Regions from separate parts of the Homo sapiens genome. Here region 1 is linked to region 2. The links are contacts of gene promoters, found by promoter capture Hi-C in human tissues and cell types (Jung and others, 2019). All regions are on one chromosome and are shown on one strand. The core of a region is centred on a gene start or on the middle of the fragment in contact, and the rest is flanking DNA. Distances in the headings are between cores, read along the strand shown.

Region 1 (6,076 bases), core at 1,174-3,673, 1.0 Mb before region 2:
GAAACTGAATAAATAAAGTCATGAACTAACGTATTATATACAGGATTTAATTTTGAAATTCTTCAATTTTGCATAGGACTTTCTTCAGCTATGGCAGTAGTCTTTTGATGGTGCTCCCATTTCTAACTGGATACATTTACAATTTGTGTTAGAATGGAATGCAATTGAGAAGGTTTATGTTTCCGTAACACCTAAATTTGGCTTAACATTCAAAGGTATCATAAATTGAGCCAATTTGTTTGGCTTTAGGAATAATTTTTAAATAAATGTACCCTTCCTAGACTAAGTGGCAAAAAAAAAAGTAGAAATGTACTGTGAAGGCAAAATACATCAACTGCTAAAATATTTGCAATCTAATATTCCATATTCACAATACTCATGAGGATATTTTCCATTTCATTGGCTATATTCTAAGACTTCTGATTACCTTAGTATATGCAGAGTATATATCTCAATTTAAAAGGTATGGTGTTCAGAGAAGCGCCATTTGAAGGTAGCTATAATTTCAAGTTTATTAACCATAAAGTCCAGCATTGAGGATTACATACAATTTTATCAAAATTTAAAAATAATAGACTGTGTCAAAAAAAATCCTTAAAAATATGGTGATACTGGCTAAGAAATTGATTAAAGCATTGGAATATATACCAAAAATAATTATTCTGCTCTTTAATGCATAGTCAATATAGATAGCTTAAAATTTTTTCCTTACTACAAAAACATTATTTTGTTTTAATGCAAATATGTTATTGTTTACCCTTTAGGATATAACAGAAAATTATGACTCATAAAGGAAATTTTCAAACATTATATAATTTCAATTATCATAGTATTCATACATTTTCAAATTTTTACTACTTTGGACAATATATAGTGAGCTGTTATTGATTTCTAATTTAATTCCATTTTTGTCAAAAACATTCTTTGTATGACTTGAGTCCATTTACTCATTTATGGAGACTTGCTTTATGGCCCAGAATATGGTATACGCTGGAAAGTGTCTCCTGTCCACCTAAGATGAATTTTACTGTCTTTGAGAAGAGTGTTCCAGAAGTGTAAATGAGATCAAGCAGGTTGATATGTTGTTTAGATAATCTATACCCTGTTGCTTTTCTGCATTAGTTCTATCAATTACCAAGAGAGATATGTTGAAATATCTGATTATAATTGTGGATTTGTCTGTTACTTTATTGATCTAACAGGTTTTTACTCACATACTTAGAAGCTGTATTAAGAGCATAATTTAGGTTTGTTCTTTCCACTGGATGAACTGTATCCTTCATCATTATGATGATGTAACTTTCTTTATCCCTGATATAGTCTTTTTGGTGAAGTCACTTTGTTTTTAATATAGCCACTCCAGCTTTCTTTTGACTAGTGTTAGGATTTTATATATTTTTCCATCCTTTTACTTTTAACCTATTAGTGCTTTTATATTTTAAGTATTACCTGTAGGTAGCACGTATTTGGGTCTGACTTTTAAAAAAAAAATCCAACCTGACAACCTTCTTAAGTTAAGGTGTTAGACCAGTTACACTTAATGTGATCATTGATCCAATTAAGTTTGTTATCTTGCTATCTGTTTTCTGTCACAGTCGGGAATGAAAAGACATTTTGCTCTTCATTATTCCACGTTTCCGCTTTATATAGCATAGGAAACTACAAAAATCATTTTGAAAGTTCAATGTTGCTAGATTACAACAGTGAAATCAAGCTTTTCCTACGAAAAACAAACCCCCTTTGGCATTTATTTAGACTGTTTTAAGAAAATGTGTTAATTATTCATCCTTCAAGATAAGGCAAGTAATTCTCTGTGTACTTTTATCTGTTTCCATGCCGTCCTGAATCACGTTTTTCTCTCCAGATAACAGGAAGATTGTCTTGAAGAATCAAGTATATTTGATTCTGAAATCTCTCATGTAAACCACACTTCCTCTTCTAGTATAAAACCAACGATTCCTTTTCTTTCTTTCTTTCTTTTTTTTTTTTTTTTTGAGACGGAGTCTCTCCAACCATTTCTTTAGTTCAGGCTTTTCAAATTTATCCTAAGTCCCTTCAAATAGCACAAAGGGGAAGCCTATGCTCGGATCTGAGACGAAGAGGTCAAAGCAGCTACATTTTGACGTAATTTTACTTTAAATTCTTCTTTAAAAGTTCTGCTCATTTGCATTCTTTTGCATAGAGAGAAAAGGTAATTTACCCTGACGCACCGAAAACAGCAACGCTCCTCTCAGATGGGGATTCTCGCCCGTGGCCGCAACCTCTGCACCCCACGGTCTGGAACTCCCACAAATCCATTAGGCTCGGGTCCCTTAGGAGCCCCCAATGTATGCTGGGATCAACCTGAACAGACCATAGACCAAGACTTCTGAGGTTCTTTCTGCTCAGGACTGTATTTCCCAGAGGCCACCGCACCGGAATTAGCGGTTCCACTTCCTGTCTCCTGGGGTTGACGACCTAGCTGGGTAAGGTCTTCACGTCCTAGGAAGAAATCGGTGGCTGCGGGAGGTCTTCGTGGACTGGGACTCGAACCTGACCGACCCGGCAGTGCGGGTGGGCGAGAGCGAGGCGCTCAGAGGAGGAACCCGGGGCGCAGACGGAATCTGCCAGATCCTTAGGCGTGCGTGTGCGCGGGCATCAAAGGATGGGGATTGCGCGATCTTGAGTGACGGAGGGGACTGTGTGAGTGTGTGCGTGAGGCCCTGTGCACAGGACCGGGACGGCGTGTGGACGCAGTGCGTTTTGCTGGGGCTGTGTGAGTGTCACTGTGCCGGTGGTACTAGGCTCCTGCTGCTTCCTCCGTCTTTCCCCTTCAAAGCTGCAGAGGCTGCAGCAGAGGAATGAAAATGTCCCCAGTAGGGAGGTTAGATATTGAACCGAGAATGAAGCTTTGCACAAGAAGGCGCAGATCTGGACTCGGGGTGGGAATATGAGAGCTGGAAGTGCCTCTTGAGGGTCCCCCAGGAGGGCAGCTACATGTTGAGAACCCAGCGTCCCTCAGAGATCTGTCCCCAGGAACCAGCTTCGAACTCAGACCGATTCCTCCTCCTTTTATTTCCTTCTCATTTCGTACGAAGTGAGGGAAGTTGTGGCCATGGAGGGTGCTTTCAAACTTAGTCTGCGCTCCAAGAAAAGCCTGGAGTCTCACGCTTGCCGTATCCTTCTCCAGTCGTATTATTATCCAAAAGAAGGACCGAGAGGAGGATGAGAGCGTTATTGTTGCACACTTAAGTCAAGGGTGAGTTTGTGCTTTGTATTTGTTCAAGAAATGCGTTTTTGATTTTAGAATATAGAGGTTCCTGTAAATTTTTAGTGAATTTCAGGAGAATATGCAAATTGATTCTTGCCCCCTCCCATTGTGCCGCCTCCCAGCGAGCCGTTCCCCACCCCGCCCGCTCCCCACCTTGCCATTTAATATTCACAGAGCCATTTGGCAAATCGTTCACACCTTCCTGTACGCTCTCTTCTTCTAAGCTGGTATAAAAATAGTCCTCCAGAGGTTTATATTAAAGCTTTATTTTAGACTCTGCTTTGAAAAGAAGATTAGTTTGTGGAATCACACGCCAGGTTTCTGACTCTTTACAGGCCTCCTTTTCCAAGTAGGGAAGAATGGAGATGGTTGGGTGATTTCCATTCGTCTGTGAGGCTTTCAGGAATCGGAAAGTGATTGCACAGAAATTGGTATCAACCAGAGTCAGGATTTTTCGGGAGAGTCCATGAGATGATAATTGTAATACTTGCCAGATCTCTGTGAGATTCGGCAGTTCCGGTTGCATTTTGGGCTATTTGTGTGAACTGTGAGAGGCAGTACGCTGTTGCGGTTAAGAATAGGGGAGTGGATCCAGAGTATCTGGGTTGGAATGTTTGTTCTGTCCGTTTCTGGTCTTCTCAGGCTTGTAATGAACATTAGAATGAATTAATACTCTAAAACCTCTTAGAGCAGTGCTAGGCATATAATAATAAATGTTTAATGTTTTAGCTTTTGTTTTCGTGTGGTCATTTTAGGTCATTTCCCTTGACTTTCTATAGGACAGGAGCATTGGGAATATGTGATTCATTGTGATTGCTGCTTGCATAGTAAGAAAATGAGTGAGTTGCTCAAATGATCTAGGACAGAAGTTCTTTTTAAATTGACAGATAAAATTGTATGTATTTATCGTGTGCAACATGATGTTTTATAGTATATGTACATTGTGGAATGACTAAATCTAGCTAATTAGCAATGCATTACCTCACATAGTTATCATTTTTGTGGTGAGAACACTTAATATCCACTCTCTTAGCACTACAGAATAGTTATTAATAGTAGTTATTAATAGTAGATACGTTGTTGTGTAATAGATTTCTTGAGCTTATTTCTCTTATCTTCCTGAAATTTTATATCCTTTGACCAACATTTCCCCAGCCAACACCATCTTCCCTCCCTCACCCACATTACCCCCGACCTGTAAACACCATTCTCTTCTCTAATTCTATGATATCAAGTGTTTTCTTTTTTTGAGAGAGAGTGTCTTACTCTGTTGCCCAGGCTGGAGTGCAGTGGCGTGATCTCGGTTCACTGCAACCTCTGCCTCCCGGGTTCAAGTAATTCTCCTGCCCCAGCCTTCCGAGTAGCTGGGACTACAGGTGCATGCCACCACACCCAGCTTATTTTTGTATTTTTAGTAGAGACAGGGTTTTGCCATGTTGGCCAGGGTGGTCTCGAACTCTGGACCTTAGGTGATCCGCCTGCCTCGGCCTTCGCCTCCGCTTTCGAAAGTGCTGGGATTACAAGTGTGAGCCACCGCACCTGGCCTATATGAACATTTTTCAGATTCCACTGATGAGTGAGATCATCTGCCTTTCTGTGCTTGGCTTACTTAATATGAATTTCTCCAGGTTCATCCATGTTGTTGCGAATGACAGCATTTCCCTTTTTTTATGGCTAGTTTTCCATTGTGTATATATACCTGCATATATACCACATTTTCTTTATCCATTCATTGATAGACAGTTAGATTGATTCCATATCTTGGCTATTGTGAATAGTGCTGCAATAAACATGGGTGTGCAGGTGTCTCTTTGGTATACAGATTTCATTTCCTTTGGATAAATATCCAGTAGTAGATTGCTGGATCATATGGTGGTTCTATTTCTAATTTTTTGAGGAACCTCCATGCTGTTTTCCATAATGTCTGTGTCACTTTACATTCTCACCAACAGTGTGCAATGGTTCACATTTCTCTACATTCTCACCAACATTTGTTAACTTATGTCTTTTCAATAGCCACCCCAACACATATGAGGTGATATCTTATTGTAGGTTTAATTTTCATTTCCCTGATGATTAGTAATGTTGAGTATTTTTTCATATACTGTAGCCATTTATATGTCGTCTTTTGAGATGTGTTTATCAGGTCCTTTGCCCATTTTTTAATTGGGTTGTTTTCTTGCTGTTGAGTTCCTCACACGTTTTGGATATTAACCCCTTATTAGATACATGACTGCAAATATTTTCTCTCATTCTGTAGGTAGTCTCTTCACTTTGCTGTGCAGAAGCTTTTTTAGCTTGATGTAATTTCATTTGTCTATGTTTGCTTTTATTGCCTGTGCTTTTGAAGTCATTTCTAGAAAAAAAAATTATTGCCCAGATCAATGTCATGAAGCTTTCCCCGTACGTTTTTTTCTATTTGTTTCATAGTTTGGGATCTTACATTTAAATCTTTAATCCATTTAGAGTTGATTTTTGTATAATGGTTTGAGAAAAGGGTCTAATTTCATTCTTCTGTGTATGACTCCCCAGTTTTCACAACAGTATGTATTGAAGAGACTGTCTTTTCCTTATTGTATGTTCTTGGCACCTGTCTCAAAAATCAGTTGGTTGTAAACATATGGATTTATTCTGGGGCTCTCTATTCTGTTCCGTTTGTCTAGGTGTCTGTTTTTATGTCAGTATCATGCTGTTTTGGTTACTATAGCTTTGTAGTATATATTGAAGTCAGGTAGTTTGATGCCTCCAACTTTGTTCTTTTTGCTCCAGACTGCTTTGGCTATTTGGGTCTTTTGTGGTTCTATGCACATTTTAGGATTTTTTTTT
Region 2 (6,418 bases), core at 389-2,888:
TCATGCCTGCGATCCCAGCACTTTGGGAGGCTGAGGCGGGCAGATCACCTGAGGTCGGGAGTTTGAGACCATCCTGGCCAACATGGTGAAACCCCGTCTCTACTAAAAATACAAAAATTAGCTGGGCATGGTGGCATGCGCCTGTAATCCCAGCTACTCGGGAGGCTGAGGCAGGAGAATCGCTTGAACCCATGAGGCGGAGGTTGCAGTGAGACGAGATTGCATCACTGCCCTCCAGCCTGGGCGACAGAGCGAGACTCTGTCTCAAAAAAATAATAAAATGTTTTATTTGGGAAGCAAGAATTGACATTCGAGGCATCCACACAGACCAGGCGGTCTTCAGAACTTTCAAAGAACAAAGAGGTTAGAGGTTTTTATAAGAAACAGAAATGTTAGGTATTGTTTTGCAAGAAAGTTCATTGACACTAGCAACGTTCTGGGGAGCTGGCAAGTTCTGACTGGTAAGTGACAGCAGAGGGAAAAACTAGTCTTAGAGTCACGGCAGGTTTTTTCAGTACCAGTTAGACTGCTTCCAGGTTACAACAGGCAGTTTTAACAGCCAGGCTTGCAGAGAATCACTTTCTTGGAGCAATGGTATCTGCCCTAAGTGTTTTCCCCCCGGCCTCTCAACTTTGTTTTAGTTGGATATGACAAGAAGGATCCAATTCACATGATCAACTTTCACAATTTTTTTTTTCTGTTTGTTTTTTGAGACGGAGTCTCACTCACTCTTTTGCACAGGCTGGAGTGCAGTGGTGCAATCTCTGCTCACTGCAACCTCCCCCTCCCGGATTCAAGCAATTCTCCTGCCTAAGCCTCCAAATTAGCTGGGATTACAGGCGCGTGCTACCACGCCCAGCTAATTTTTGTATTTTTAGTAGAGACGGGGTTTCACCATGTTGGCCAGGCTGGTCTCGAACTTCTGACCTCAAGCGATCCGCCTGCCTTGGCCTCCCAAAGTGCTGGGATTACGGGCATGAGTCACCGCACCCAGCCACAATTGTATTTTTATTGGACAGAGCTGATCTAGAGGTTAAAATGAGGAATTCCGGAGCTAGGCTGGCTGGATTCAAATCCCTACTAGCTGGTGATCATAGACAAGCCACTTGGCCTCTGCTGGTCTCAGTTTTTTCACCTGTGAAGTAAAGGGCATAACAGCACCTACTTCATGGGGTTGCCACCCTGGCTGGCAGTAAAACCGTCCATAAAAGTTGGCTGGTGTTACTATTGGTTGCATTAATTTTTAGCAGCCGGAGCCTGTTTTCTCCTGTGAAATGAAGATAACCACGCCCGACCTTAAAGGTGATGGAAATTTTTTAACACGTTAACGGATACGAGGCCTCCCACTCAGAAGCCTGACCAAAATAACAATGGTTGCTCAGAGCCAGACGTCTCATTGCTACTAACGAATTAGGGACACTTCAAGGGGCCGGCTGGAGGGGACGGCTGTGAGCAGCAGGCCTTGGCTCCTGGCTGCACCTGGCCCCGTCGCGGGAAGCAGGTTGGGTTTGGAGAGCGGGAGGGAGCAGGCGGGAGGGGCTGGCGAGTAAGAAAGAGGATGCAGGGGTGGGTGAAGCTGGCTAGTAAGAGGGGAGGGGCCGGCGAGTAAAAAGGACGCAGAGGGGCGTGGGGAGCTTGCGGCACAGCTAGGGCATCCCGGCGAGGAGCGCCGCCAGGCCCCGGGGTAGGACTTGGGGTGCGGTGTCGGTGCGGCCGCCGAGGGGGGCTGATTGCATGCAATTCGGGGCATACACACAGACCGCGGGGTCTCCGGGATATCGGGGCTATCAAGGACGGGCTGGGGGATGGGGACTTGGGGACGGGGCCCAGGGATGGTGAAGACGGGGGTGCGGCTGGCAGAATCAGGGCAGGCAGAGGCTGCGCGCCGCGGAGGCTGCTGGTCCCTGACGCCTTGACCCTTCCTCTCCCGCAGCCACAGCCGGGCCTGGCGGGGGGACCATGGGCGCCTCGGTCTCCAGGGGCCGGGCCGCCCGGGTCCCCGCGCCGGAGCCGGAACCCGAAGAGGCGCTGGACCTGAGCCAACTACCCCCAGAGCTGCTTCTGGTGGTGCTGAGCCACGTCCCCCCGCGCACGCTGCTCGGGCGCTGCCGCCAAGTGTGCCGGGGCTGGCGAGCCCTGGTGGACGGCCAGGCCCTGTGGCTGCTGATCCTGGCCCGCGACCACGGCGCCACCGGCCGCGCGCTGCTGCACCTCGCCCGCAGCTGCCAGTCTCCCGCCCGTAACGCCAGGCCTTGCCCCCTGGGCCGCTTCTGCGCGCGCAGACCCATCGGACGCAACCTTATTCGCAACCCCTGCGGCCAAGGTGGGATCTCGGAAGAGGAAGTCCAGGATGCTGGGCCACAGTGGGAGCGGTAGCGGGGCCGGAGGGGCGGGGCCGCACTGGGACCGGTACTAGGGGCCGCAGGGGCAGGGCCGCAGTGGGACCGGTGGGAGGAGTCGGAGAGGCGGGGCAGCATTGGGAGCCGGTGTGAGGTGCCGGAGGGGCGGGGCAGCATTGGGAGCCGGTGGGAGGTGTCGGAGGGACGAGGCAGCATTGGCACGCAGGGTGCAGGGCTGACTGGGCAGGGCTTCACCGTTTGCCTGTGGGAGGGGTGGGAGTGGGGCAGTTCTGGGAGCCCGAGAGAGGGGTTGGAGGGGCAGGGCTTTGCTGCAAATCAGTGAGAAGGGCCAGAGGAGCGGGGCTTTGCCCTGAGCTGGTGGGAGGGGAAGGGGGCGGGGCCTCGGTGGGAAGGGTCAGGTGAGTGAGCTGCACTGTGAGCACGTGGGAGGGGCTAGGGGCGGGGTCTCACTAGGAACCAACAGGCGGGCGACTGGAACTTGGGCACAAGCCTTTTTTATTTCACAGAAGGCCTCCGAAAGTGGATGGTGCAACACGGTGGGGACGGCTGGGTGGTGGAGGAAAACAGGACAACCGTGCCTGGGGCCCCTTCTCAGACGTGCTTCGTGACTTCATTCAGGTGAATGCCCCTGCTATCCAAAGGTCCGGCCCCTTGTTGAGAAAGGCCTGCCTGTTCTCATTACCCTGTCTCCTGCATTCCCAGCTGGTGTTGCAAGAAGCAGGTCTTGGACCTAGAGGAGGAGGGTCTGTGGCCAGAACTGCTGGATAGTGGCAGGATTGAGATTTGTGTCTCTGACTGGTGAGTGTGACGATTAAAATAGCCCCTTGCTAAGCACTGACTGCATGTGACATGGCCTTTTTATGGGTGACTTAATTTAGGCCTCCTAACCCCTCCTTACAGATAAAAAATCTGAAGTTCAGGCCAGCCATGGTGGCTCACACCTATAATCCCAGCACTTTGGGGGGTCGAGGCAGGCAGATCACTTGAGGTCAGGAGTTCGAGACCAGCCCAACCAGCATGGCAAAACCTCGTCTCTACTAAAAATACAAAAAAAAAATTAGCCGGGCCTGGTAGTGCACACCTGTAGTCCCACATACTTGGGAGGCTGAGGCAGGAGAATCACTTGAACCCAGGAGGTGGAGGTTGTACCACTACACTCCAGCCTGGACGACAGAGTGAGACTCAGTCCTGGAAAAAAAAAAGAAAGAAAAGAAACTGAAGTTCAGGGAGGTGAAGTGAAAAACACACTCACAGTTCTAGTAATTAGCAGAGTACACACTTTCTGCTCATGCCCAAAAGGATGTGGATTGGAAGACAGAAGATGAGATCCAGTACAGAGACCTTTGGCCCAGCTCAGTCTTGTCTGTGAATGAATGAGATGCTCCTTGCCTTAGGAGGAGAAAACAGCATAGTTAGCCAAGAGCTTAGGTTCTGGAGCCAGACCTCCCAGATTCAAACCCTAGCTCTGTGGCTTTGTAGCCTTGGGCAAGTCACAGCATACCTCTGTTTCCCCTGTTTACAAGATAGGGCTCTTGCAATGACAATTATTATATGGCAAACACATAGCAAGTACTTTATGTGAGCACCTTTTTTTGAACCTTGATCCTGTGGGAAGGTGTATTTCAAGCCCTCAGATCATTCAGAGCTTCTCAGGAAATTGAGAGGTTGGGAAAGGGGAGATGGCAGTCTGGGCACGGTGGCTCATGCCTGTAATCCCAGCACTCTGGGAGGCCGAGGTGGGCAGATCTCTTGAGCTAAGGAGTTCGAGACCAGCCTGGCCAGCATGGCAAAACCCATCTCTACTAAAAATACAAAAAATTAGCTGGGCGTCATGGTAAGTGTCTGTAGTCCCAGCTACTCAGGAGGCTGAGGCAGGAGAATCACTTGAACCCGGGAAGTGGAGGTTGCAGTGAGCTGAGATGGCACCACTGCACTCCAGCCTGGGCAACAGAGCGAGACTCCATCAAAAAAAGAAAGGGGAGATGACTTGCCCTGGTCTGGTCACACAGCCTGGGCTTGGCAGAACCTGGCATAAGGCTCAGAGTCAGATTCTGACTCCAGAGCTTGTCCTCTGTAGTGATGGTCTTGAAACTGGGGTGCATGAAGACTTTCCAGGGGATATATGACCCAGATGGTTTTATGGGAGTCAAATTCCAGGTCCACTACAGCCATGAGCCCCCTATTACACAATTAATCTGCTATAGGTTACATCTGTGTGGGAAGTATCATATGATTCTCGTTCCCCAATCTCTTTCTCAGTGTCCCCCTTCTCTAGTTTTATAGGAAAAAAGCCCCTCACTAAGGTGTGGTCCCCAGATGTAAGGACTACTGGGGAGCCAGGCAAAGTGGCCATTGGAAATTTGGGGCCTTAGCAAATTCACTTTTTTTTTTTTTTTTTTTGAGACAGAGTCTCACTAGGTGGCCCAGGCTAGAGTGCAATGGTGCAATCTCAGATCACTGCAACCTCTACCTCCCAGATTCAAGTGATTCTCCTGCCTCAGCCTCCCGAGTAGCTGGGATTACAGGTGTGCACCACCACACCTGGCTATTTTTTTTTATTTTTAGTAGAGATGGGGTTTCACCATGTTGCCCAGGCTGGTCTTGAACTGCTGACCTCAGGTGATCTGCCCACCTCAGCCTATTAAAGTGCCGGGATTACAGGCATAAGCCACTGTGCCTGGCCAGCAAATTCACTCTTAATCAAGGCACCATAACCCTATTCCCCAACTCCATCTCATTAAGAGATACATCTCCAATAAGATTTTTTTTTTTTTTTTTTTTTTTAGAGACAGAGTCTTGCTCTTTTACCCAGGCTGGAGTGCAGTGGCGTGATCTCGGCTCACTGCAATCTCTACCACCTGGCCTCAAAAAATCCTCCCACCTCAGCCTCCTGAGTAACTGGGACTACAGGTGCATACTGGCTAATTTTACATGCCTGGCTAATTTTTGAATTTTTTGTTTTTTTGAGACAAAGTTTCACTTGTCACCCAGGCTGGAGTGCAATGGCACAATCTCAGCTCACTGCAACCTCTGCCTTCTGGATTCAAGTGATTCTCCTGCCTCAGCCTCCCCAGTAGCTCGGATTGCAGGTGTGTACCACCACGCCTGGCTAATTTTTGTATTTTTAGTAGAGACGGGGTTTGGCCACGTTGGCCAGGCTGGCCTCGAACTCCTGACCTCAGGTGATCTGCCCGCCTCTGCCTCCCAAAGTCCTGGGATTACAGGTGTGAGCCACCATGCCCAGCCATATTTTCTGTAGAGACGGGGTTTTGCCATGTCACCCAGGCTGGCCTTGAACTCCTGGATTCAAGCAGTCCTTACACCTCTGCCTCCCAAAGTGCTGGGATTACAGGTGTGAGCCACCACGGCTGGCCAGATTTTATTTTTTGTTATTACTTATCAAACTATGTAACATATTTGTGTTGTTTTGATCAGTGGGTACTATTTGATTGTGATAATCAGTGGCTCCCAAATTTTGCCGCACCTCATAAAGGTAGCTTTTAAAACATAAAATGCCCAGGCACCATTCATACCCATTAAATCTGAGCATCTGAGGGTGAGAGCCAGGCACCAATATTTGTTTGTTTTTTGTTTTTGAGACAGGGTCTCCCTCTATCGCCCAGGCTGGAGTGCAATGGTGCGATCTCAGCTCACTGCAACCTCTGCCTCCTGGGTTCCAGCGATTCTCCTGCCTCGTAGCTGGGATTACAGGCACCTGCCACCACGCCTGGCTAATTTTTGTATTTTTAGTAGAGACAAGGTTTCACCATGTTGGCCAGGCTGGTCTCGAACTCCTAACCTCAAGTGATCCACCCACCTCGGCCTCCCAAAGTGTTGGGATTACAGGCGTGAGCCACCTCGCCCAGACAGGCATCAATATTTGTGAGAAGTTTAGAGCTTGCTACAAAGTTCGGGGATGGAATCCCTAAGACCATCCTCGCTTCTGACATGATATGTCACAACAACACAAATATGTTATGTAGTTTGATGAGTAATAATTAAAAACAAAATCTGACTGGGCATGGTGGCTCACGCCTATAGTCCCAACACTTTGGGAG

Evidence for each region. Contacts are between HindIII fragments. The study calls those that stand out against the background at their distance.
Region 1: a contact is called between the fragment with the promoter of ZNF780B here and the fragment with the promoter of FBXO27 in region 2, in 1 of the 25 tissues and cell types used here (stomach).

Annotation. Positions count from the first base shown.
Region 1 is chr19:40,052,578-40,058,653 of GRCh38, reverse strand. It overlaps ZNF780B (zinc finger protein 780B), which reads left to right and starts at 2,423. Exons shown (of 5, transcript NM_001005851.3): 1 at 2,423-2,465. RefSeq lists an enhancer at 2,434-2,563. The HindIII fragment of the contact is 5,330 bases long and covers 1-3,200 here.
Region 2 is chr19:39,027,769-39,034,186 of GRCh38, reverse strand. FBXO27 (F-box protein 27) reads left to right here and starts at 1,638. Exons shown (of 6, transcript NM_178820.5): 1 at 1,638-1,684; 2 at 1,934-2,323; 3 at 2,867-2,978; 4 at 3,063-3,158. The coding sequence starts at 1,960. RefSeq lists silencers at 1,860-1,929, 1,990-2,139, 2,340-2,419, 2,570-2,809, 2,659-2,841 and enhancers at 1,751-2,543, 2,950-3,059. The HindIII fragment of the contact is 13,585 bases long and covers 1-3,122 here.